Regions from separate parts of the Homo sapiens genome. Here region 2 is linked to region 1. The links are contacts of gene promoters, found by promoter capture Hi-C in blood cells and fetal thymus (Javierre and others, 2016). All regions are on one chromosome and are shown on one strand. Each heading gives the region's core, a stretch centred on a gene start or on the middle of the fragment in contact. The rest is flanking DNA. Distances are from core to core; before and after follow the strand shown.

Evidence for each region. The method cuts DNA at HindIII sites, captures the fragments that hold promoters and counts their contacts. A CHiCAGO score of 5 or more calls a contact.
Region 2: a contact is called between a fragment that was not itself captured here and the fragment with the promoter of KLRF2 in region 1, in 1 of 17 cell types (neutrophils). The highest score is 6.3, in neutrophils.

Annotation. Positions count from the first base shown.
Region 1 is chr12:9,878,996-9,883,817 of GRCh38, forward strand. KLRF2 (killer cell lectin like receptor F2) reads left to right here and starts at 2,494. Exons shown (of 6, transcript NM_001190765.1): 1 at 2,494-2,670. The coding sequence starts at 2,601. It also overlaps a transcript of CLEC2A not described here. The HindIII fragment of the contact is 1,448 bases long and covers 2,403-3,850 here.
Region 2 is chr12:10,144,709-10,149,530 of GRCh38, forward strand. No RefSeq gene overlaps it. Among named protein-coding and RNA genes, the nearest start is that of CLEC7A, 17 kb to the left of the region's middle. The HindIII fragment of the contact is 6,553 bases long and covers 1-4,822 here.

The sequences.
Region 1 (4,822 bases), core at 1,244-3,743:
GAATCAGGCTTTCTGATATCAACGGCAATAATTTGATTCTAGAGGTCAAGGGGTTGCAGTTGCCACAATAAGCCAGAGGGAATGATTAGTAATCAGAGTTTTCATCCACAGAAATCTGTGACAATGATTAGCTGATTTTAAGTTTTGGGAAATGAAAAAAAAAGAAAAGAAAAGAAAAACAAACAAAAAAGGATATTTCACTAAGGAGCTGCTTGATATGCTAAGGAAAATTACATGTATGTTGCCCAGAAACTTAGCCCGTATTTTCAGAGAGGAGATTCATTGTGTCTTACCCAATCCCCAGACTTCCATATAGTTAGTAGGCAAAGCTCTTCGCAGACCAGGAACCACTCAACTGGGGAGGAGGTAGGTTTGGTCTCTTGGTGAAGGACATTGTAACATGGCCACAGGTGTAATTATGATATTTATTCCCCAACACCTAAACCGGAGGAAACTTCAGTCATTTTCTTGAATGACTATACACTGGGAAAAAGCTGAGAACCTGTGATGGTTTCCGGCTTGTATTTACAAACAGAAATAACAAGTATTTCTTTGCTGCCTTGCCCAGGTGTATGTCAGCTCTCCTGATCTCTGTTATAAGATGGCCCAGAGGGAACTAAATCATCTTGATATAGCTCCCAATATGTTATACCTCAGAACTGGTTGCACACAATAGATTCATTACATTGATGCTATCATGCCAACTGTTCCTGGTGAAAAGTAGGCAGTAAACCTACTACATATTTTTATAAGACATATGTTCACCACCATTAACTTGATCCAACTTGACCACTTTGACCCAATGAACCCTATGTTTAGAAGTGCACAGAAGCATTTTATCACAAACATAATTGTGCCATTTTGGAGGCAAGGCCTGAACAGTTCCAAAGAAGCACAGTAAACTGCATGAGCAGATGGCTCAGACTCCGATGGCACATGTTCGCATTCCTTTGCTATCTCCACCTCAACCATACCTATGACCCGGGTTGGGGATGGAAAAGAGGGTTCTGTACGATCTTACACTGAAGTAGTTGAAAAAAATAAGTTTATCAGTGGTTATGTAAAATACGGCAGCTGGAATAGATGCCACACTACAGTCCCATTCAGGAGAAGACTGTGAAAGACAGAAGTGAAGGTAAGTCTTCCCACTGAACAGAAGTTTGGACAATATGTCTGGTTGTGAACCTAACAGGAAGGATAAGCACTCAGAGAAATACATCTAAATCATCTTATCAGAAACTAATAGGTGAGATGACTTGTCGGAAACTCAAAAAGAACAAAATAGAAAAATGAATGAGAAGCTAAGAGGTACATATAGAGATCATGCAGAATGGACGCGGCGTGTGTAAATATTCATTCCCATGTAAATACTCACAAGTGACATCCAGTGTTGAGGAGGAGACTCAATAATCAGGTGAACACAACATGTGCTGTGGGAAACAGTCAGCCACCTTCCCCAGACACTCGGTGTTAAATCAATGGATTGATATTGAGTGGCCACGTAGCAGAAACAGAACCATTAGCATGTGTGTGTGTGTGTGTGTGTGTGTGCGTGTTAAGTGAAATATATATAAAATAAGGAATGTGATTATGGAGGCTGGTAAGTCAAAATTCTGCAAATGAGCATGGACAGACTGGGTACCTAGGAAGGCTCAATTCAAATGCAAAGTCCACCGTCTGTAGAATCAGGAGGAGCTAATGCTGCAGATAGTCTGAAGGCCATTGCTGGAGAATTCTCTCTCACTCAGGGAAGACAAGTCTTTTTGTTCTATTCAAGGCTCCAACTGACTCAATAAGGCCCAGTCACATTACAGAGGAGGCAAATCTGCCTTACTCAAAGGTCACCTATTTAAATATGAATCCCATCCAAAAACACCCTCACAGAAATAAGCAGAATGATGTCTGATCAACTATCTGGACTCTCTGTGACTCAGCCAAGTTGACACAAAATAAACTGCCACACCTACTGAAGGAAAATCTGCCTGGCGTTTTCTGAAAAACAAACAAACAAACAAAAAAGTTTAAAAAGTTAAATTCTTTGCAAGTGATTCCGATTTTCACTAACTTGAGACTTGCTGATCTTTTATTTTCCTATTTTTGTCCCATCTAACCATCGTTATTTGGACTCTACTAGTCAAATATGTCCCAAATAACAAAATTGCTATTTTAACTTTTTTAATTTGAATTTTTATTTACCTAGACATTTGTTCTGTTTGTTTAGAGATTATTTGTTTTATTTTATTTTTTCTCTTACTTTATTATAAAAGACATGAAGGAAGGAATTATGTTTCTAATACACCGCACACAAGTGGCAGGAACACACAAGTCCATTTGTTGAAAACAGTGGAACACACTAGCTACCTTTACCTTGAAATTCACAGAATTGTAGCCAGATATTAACAAGCTTATATCCATTTTCATTTACCAACACATCCTGTGTGGTTTTAGACATCTGTGTCTGAGTAAATTTTGACTATTTTTGGCCTTCCTTTTAGTTTTCTTTTAGTACCTTGTGCCAAAGAGACATATCCAAGGTTGAGATTAGTTTCCATTTTCTTTGTACTATTTTCTGGATAATAAGACATTAGACATTTGAAGAGATGGAGAATGAAGATGGGTATATGACGCTGAGTTTCAAGAATCGTTGTAAATCGAAGCAGAAATCTAAAGGTAGGAATACTGCTCCCCATCACCGCATTTAAAATTTCATTATTCTTCTAGGAAGAGAATTATCTTAGAATATTTTTAACATCTTAACATTGATCATAATAAGGAATATAAAAATGGTCATAAATTGTCTGTTAGATTATTTAGATTCATGAAAGCATCAACAATAAAAAGTCTGCATTTTCAGAGCCATGAGGTAAGAGAAATGCGAATATGACGATGTGTAATCCTGTGTGTTGTAGCATAAGAACATCACTTTCGAAGAAAAGGCTGAAAAATTGTGTTTTTACAGAAACTTCCTCCTACAAAACTTAAAGTTTATATAAACTTAAAGCGTATATATATGCTTATATATATATTTATGCTTATACATATATAATATTTTTAATCTTCGTAAAAGCCCTATAGGATTGGTAGAACAATCTACTGGGAATGCGAGAAGAGAGAAAAAAAAACAAAAAAACATTAATCTTTGCTCCTTAGGGCTGCTCTGTGGTTGGCTTTGTTTGCTTTTTCAGGAATTTTGAAAACAATCTTGTTGAAATAGCCAAGACCTAAGTTAAGATGACATAGGCCAGAAATTCAGAATTACCAGTCGCAGTGGCAGTTCTGCCATATGTATTGAACATTCTCGTGTACAATCTCATTTTATATCTAGCAAATGCAAACTTCCCCTGCACCCCCTGCCCCCACAAAATGACACTTTTGTTATTATCTGAAGACTCAGATCTTTTTTGTGTTTCAATATCATGAAACAAATGTTTACTTTTTCAATAGTAACTTACTTCCATGCAGCAAAAACTAGTACCATTGGTGTTAAATTGACTGAGGCAGACCAGGCACGGTGGCTCATGCCTGTAATCCCAGCACTTTGGGATGCAGAGGTGGGCGGGTCACCTGAGGTCAGGAATTCGAGACCAGCCTGGCCAACATGGTGAAACCCCGTCTCTACTAAAAATACAAAAAAAATTAGCTGGGTATGGTGGCGTGTGCCTGTAATCCCAACTACTTGGGAGGCTGAGGCAGGAGAATCGCTTGAACCCGGGAGACGGAGGTTGCAGTCAGCTGAGATCATGCCACTGCACTCCAGCCTGAGTGACAGAGCAAGACTCCATATATAAAAAAACAAAAAAAATTATTCAGACCCTAAAGCCCACAGACTAAATGTATGGCTCTGGGCAGAAGCTTTTAGCCTTCTTAAATCTCAATACTTTGATATATAATAAGAAAAATCTACCTGATGATGCTTTTATGTGGATGTTAAACTAAATTTACTATTTTTTAATCTATAAACTACTTTTTAATATACAAATGTGTACAGAGACTTAAAATCTGAGTATTGATACATAAAATATAAGATAATATCCATTTAAATTATGAATGAAGGAAGGATAGGGCTGGGAAAATAAATTGGGCCAGAAAAATTACTGTAGGCATGTTTGTGCTTGCTATACATTTGCTTCCAAGCTTCCTTGTTATTACTGACCTAAGGGAATTCTTACCAGTTGTTCAGTTCACATTGTGTATAAGATAAAGTTACACCTATTCCTTAAGATTGATATAATTAATCTTGATCCTAAATCAGAAAAAATATTTTCCTGAGTTCTCATGAAGCACATAAAATAATACAATTAGTGTTCTTGCAATAGTAGCACCAGCAGATTTTGTAAGACAATTTCTTCATATAGCCCTGTGTAAGCCAATGGCATCTAGCCAAGCAGTGCTAGGATAGGCCAGCATACTGCACTTCATGTACTCAGCTCTCTGTTCACCTGGCTTGATATAGTATGTAAATCATGGCTTACATGAAAATATTAATTTTTGGTCTATTGTTCAGTTTTTTATAAATCTTATTTGGCAAGAAGTTTAAAGTCTCCCTCCCTGGCATGTATGGAAAGAGCACTTGTTAACTACAGATCCATATACCCTTGATTGATATTTTCTCATAAAATTGCAGAAATGTATTTTGACGATTTTCAATTAAGTAGAAGTCTTTCCATATTTGCTTGAACAGCAGAAATATCTACAGGGAAGAAAAAGAAAGAAAATTATTTTGGACTTAGTAATACAGACAATTGAGTAGCAAATTTCAAAAGGTACACTACATACAGTAAATTCTCTAAGTATATACTATAGATCTAATCAAATGCAGTAA
Region 2 (4,822 bases), core at 883-3,382, 270 kb after region 1:
AAGGGAAGAAGAAAGAAAAGTAAAATAAAAGAAGGAAGGCAAGCAAGAAAGAAGGAAAAGAGGCCAGGCGCGGTGGCCCACGCCTGTAATCCCAGCACTTTGGGAGGCCGAGGCGGGTGGATCACGAAGTCAGGAGATCGAGACCATCCTGGCTATCTAGGTGAAATCCCATCTCTACTAATAAATACAAAAAATTAGCCGGGCGTGGTGGCGGGCACCTGTAGTACTTGGGAGGCTGAGGCAGGAGAATGGCATGAACCCGGGAGGTGGAGCTTGCAGTGAGCCGAGATCGTGCCACTGCACTCCAGCCTGGGCGACAGAGTGAGACTCTGTCTCAAAAAAAAAAAAAAGAAGGAAAAGAGAAGGAGAAAGAACAGAAAGTAATAGAAAGGAAAGAAGGCAGGGGGAAGAGAAGCGGAAAGTAAGAGAGGGGAGGGGACGGGAGGGAAAGGGCAGAGCAGAGCATTAGGTTGCTGGGAGATAATTTCTAGCGCCTAATACGCGTGTATTAAATCCCTTAACAGTGTGTGGGAGTGGGGTAGAGGTTGGAGCAGAAAACATATTTGAAAAAATAATGCTTAACATTTTCAAAGCTAATGAAAAATGTAAAACAATAGATCCAAAAGCTAAAGAACTCTGAATACAAGAAACAAACAAAAAAACTTCACCAAGGCACATCATAATAAAAAATGCATAAACCCTGTGACAAAACGAAAATAAAATATCTAACAAAAGCATAGATAATTATGTACAGAGAAACAAAGAATGATAGAATATTTGTCATAAGAAATAATACAAGTAAGAAGACTGTGGAGTAACATTTTTGAAGTATACAAAAAAATCTGTCAGCCTAGCATTCTACACCCAGTGAAAATATCATTTAAAAGTACAGATGAAATAATAATGTTTTCAGACATCTTAAATCAGAATTAATCACAAACAGAATTTCAGTAGAGAAAACATTTAAAAAATTCTTCAGGAGGCCGGGCACGGTGGCTCACACCTGTAATCCCAGCACTTTGGGAGGCCAAGGCAGGCAGATCACAAGGTCAAGAGATCGAGACCATCCTGGCTAACATGGTGAAACCCTGTCTCTACTAAAAAATACAAAAAATTAGCCAGGCATGGTGGCAGGTGCCTGTAGTCCCAGCTACTTGGGAGGCTGAGGCAGGAGAATGGCATCAACCTGGGAGGCGGAGCTTGCAGTGAGCAGAGATCGGCCACTGCACTCCAGCCTGGGCGACAGAGCGAGACTCCGTCTAAAAAAAAAAAAAAAAAAGGAGGAAAAAGAAATAGGAAATAGATCAAAGGAGACAAATTGAAAACAAATATCAAGATGACAGACTTAAGTATAATTAATCAGAATTTCATTAAATGTAAATGTTTTAAACACCCAAAAGAAATTGTTAAATGATGTAAAATAGCGAGCCCAAATGTTATGTCAGCTAAAAGGAATATACTCGGTTTAAAGACAAAAAAATAGGTTAAAAGTAAAAGGATAAAAAAAGATATATCATGCCAATATTAATCAAAGAAAAGCAGGAGTGGCTGTACTAATTTCAGACTAATAGATTTCAGAACAAACATTACTAACAGGAATAAAAAAGTTTACTTGGTTAGAGGTCAGTTCATCAAGAGAGAATGAAAATCCATAATATTTATGCCTTGATTATCAGAGCTTTAAAATATACAAAGCAAACCTGATAGAACTACAGGAGAAGTAGACAAAATCATAATTATCATCAAAGGTTAGATACTCCTTTTTCAATAATTGATATGATAATAGACAAAAAATATCAGCAAGCATATAACAGACTTCAACCAGACTGGGGATGGTGACTCATGCCTGTAATCCCAGCACTTTGCGAGGCGAGTCAGGTGGATCACCTGAGGTCTGGAGTTCAAGACCAGTCTGGCCAACTTGACGAAACTAAGAATACAAAAATTAGAGGGGCATGGTGGTGTATGCCTGTAATCCCAGCTACTCGGGAGGCTGAGGCAGGAGAATCTCTTGAACCCAGGAGGCGGAGGTTGCAGTGAGCCAAGATCGCGCCACTGCACTCCAGCCTGGGGGACAAAAGCGAAACTCTGTCTCAAAAAACTATATATATATATAGCCGGGCATGGTGGCACATGACTGTAATCCCAGCTTCGCAGGAGGCTGAGAGAGGAGAATCGCTTGAACCCGGGAGGCGGAGGTTGCACCCGCGCCACTGCACTCCAGCCTGGCCGACAGAGACCGAGACACCTTCTCAAAACTAAATAAATAAATAAAGACTTGAATCAAATTATTGTCCGCATTTATTTGATGTACATTTTAACAACATTCCATCCAACGACAACAGATTACATATTCTTTTTAAGTGTACATGGAAAATTTGCCAAGATAGATCATATTTTTGGCCATAAAATGTCTCAATAAATTTAAGGGTTTAAGTCATTAAAAATGTTTCTTCTCACATGGAAACTAATAGTATAATGATTTCTGGAAAATTCCCAAGTATTTGGAAATTAACACATTCTAAATAATCAATGAATCAAAGAGGAAATTTGAAGGGAAATTAGAAAGTGTTTTGAACTGAATAAATGTGAAAAATTACCATACCAGAATCTGTTGTATACCACTAAAGCAATATTTAAAGGAAAGTTTAAAGCACTGCATGACTATATAAAAAAGAAGAAATGCCTCAAATTAATGAACTCAGCTTCCATATTAAGAAACAAGAAAAAGAAGAAATTAAAACCCAACTAAGTAGAAAAAAGAAACAATAGCAATCAAAGTAGAAATTAATGAAATAGGAAACAAAAATATATAGACAAAGTCAATGAAACAAAGAGCTTTTTTAGACAGCAATTTCAACTTTTATTCTAGATTCAGTGGGTACATATGCAGGTTTGTTACATGGGTAAATTTCATGATGCTGAGGTTTGTAGTGCAGATCATTCTGTCACCTAGGAAGAGAGCATAGTACCCAATAGGTAGTTTTTCAGCTGACATTTCCCTTCCTCCCTCCCTCCCCCTTCTAGTAGTTCCCAGTATCTATTGTTCTCATTATTACGTCCATGCGTACTCAATGCTTAGCTCCCACTTGTAAGTGAGTACATGCAGTATTTGGTTCACTGTTCCTATGTTAATTCACTTAGGATAATGGCCACCAGCTGCCTCCATGTTGTTGCAAACAACATGATTTCATTCTTTTTTATGGCTGTGTAGTATTCCATGGTGTATATGTACCACATTTTCCTTATACAATCCACTGTCAATGGACACCTAGGTTGATTCCATGTCTTTGCTATTGTGAATAGTGCTGTGATGAGCATACGAGTGCACGTGCTTTTTGGTAGAGTGATTTATTTTCCTTCAGATATATATCCAGAAATGAGATTTTCAGATTGAATCATAGTTCTGTTTTAAGTTCTTTCAGAAATCTCCAAACTGCTTTTTATAGTGGCTGAACTAATTTACATTCCCACCAACAGGGTATAAGCATTCTCTTTTCTCTGCAGCCTTGCCACCATCTGTTGTTTTATGACTAATAATAGCCATTCTGACTGGTGAGAGATGGTGTCTCATTGTGGTTTTAATTTGCATTTCTCTAATGATTAGTGATGATGATCATTTTTTCATATGTTTGTAGGCCGCTTGTATGTCCTCTTCTGTGAAGTGTCTGTTCATGTCCTTTGCCTCTTTTTAATGGGGTTATTTGTTTATTGCTTGCTGATTTGTTTAAGCTGCTGCTGCTGCTTCTTTTTTTTTTTTTTTTTTTTTTTGAGATGGGGTTTCGCTTTTGTTGCCCAGGCTGGAGTGCAATGGTGCAATCTCAGCTCACTGCAGTCTCTACCTCCCAGGTTCAAGTGATTCTCCTGCCTCAGCCTCCTGAGTAGCTGGGACTACAGGTGCGTGCTACCACACCTGGCTAACTTTTGTATTTTTAGTAGAGATGGGGTTTCACCATGTTGGCCAGGTTGGTCTCGAACTTCTGACCTCAGGTGATCCACCCACCTTGGCCTCCCAAATTGCTGGGATTACAGGTGTGAGCCACCACACCTGGCCTAAATTTCTTATAGATTCTGGATTATTACACCTTTGTCAGATGCATACTTTACTAACATTTTCTCGTATTCTGTAGATTGTCTAATTTCTCTGTTGATAGTTTCTTTTGCTATGCAAACCTCTTTAGTTTAATTAGGTCCTATTGTTGATTACTGTTTTTGTTGCAATTGCTTTTAAAGATTTAGCCATAAATTATCTGCCTTAGCTGATGTTGAGTAGGGTATTTCCTCGATTTATTTCTAGAATTTTATAGTTTGAGGTCTTAAGTCTTTAATCCATTTTGAATCAATTTTTATGTGTGATGAAAGGTAGGGTTTCACCAGTTTCAATCTTCTGCATATGGCTAGCCAGTATATTCCAGCACTTTTACTGAACAGGGAGTCCTTTCCTATTGGTCGTTTTTGTCAACTTTGTCAAAGACCAGATAATTGTAGGTGTGCAACTTTATTTCTGGGTTCTCTATTCTGTTCCCTCAGTCTATGTGTCTGTTTTTGTACTACTATCATGCTCTTTGGGTTATTGTAGCCTTATAGTATAGTTTGAAGTTGGGTAACATGATGCCTCCAGTTTTGCTCTTTTTGCTTTGGATTGTTTTGACTATTCAGGCTCTGTTTTGGTTCTGTATGAATCTCAGGATTGTTTTTTCTAATTCTGTGAAAAATGATACTTGTAATTTGATGGTAATAGCATTGAATCTGTACATTGCTTTGGGCAGTATGCCATTTTAACAATATTGATTCTTCCAATCCATGGGCATGACATGTTTTT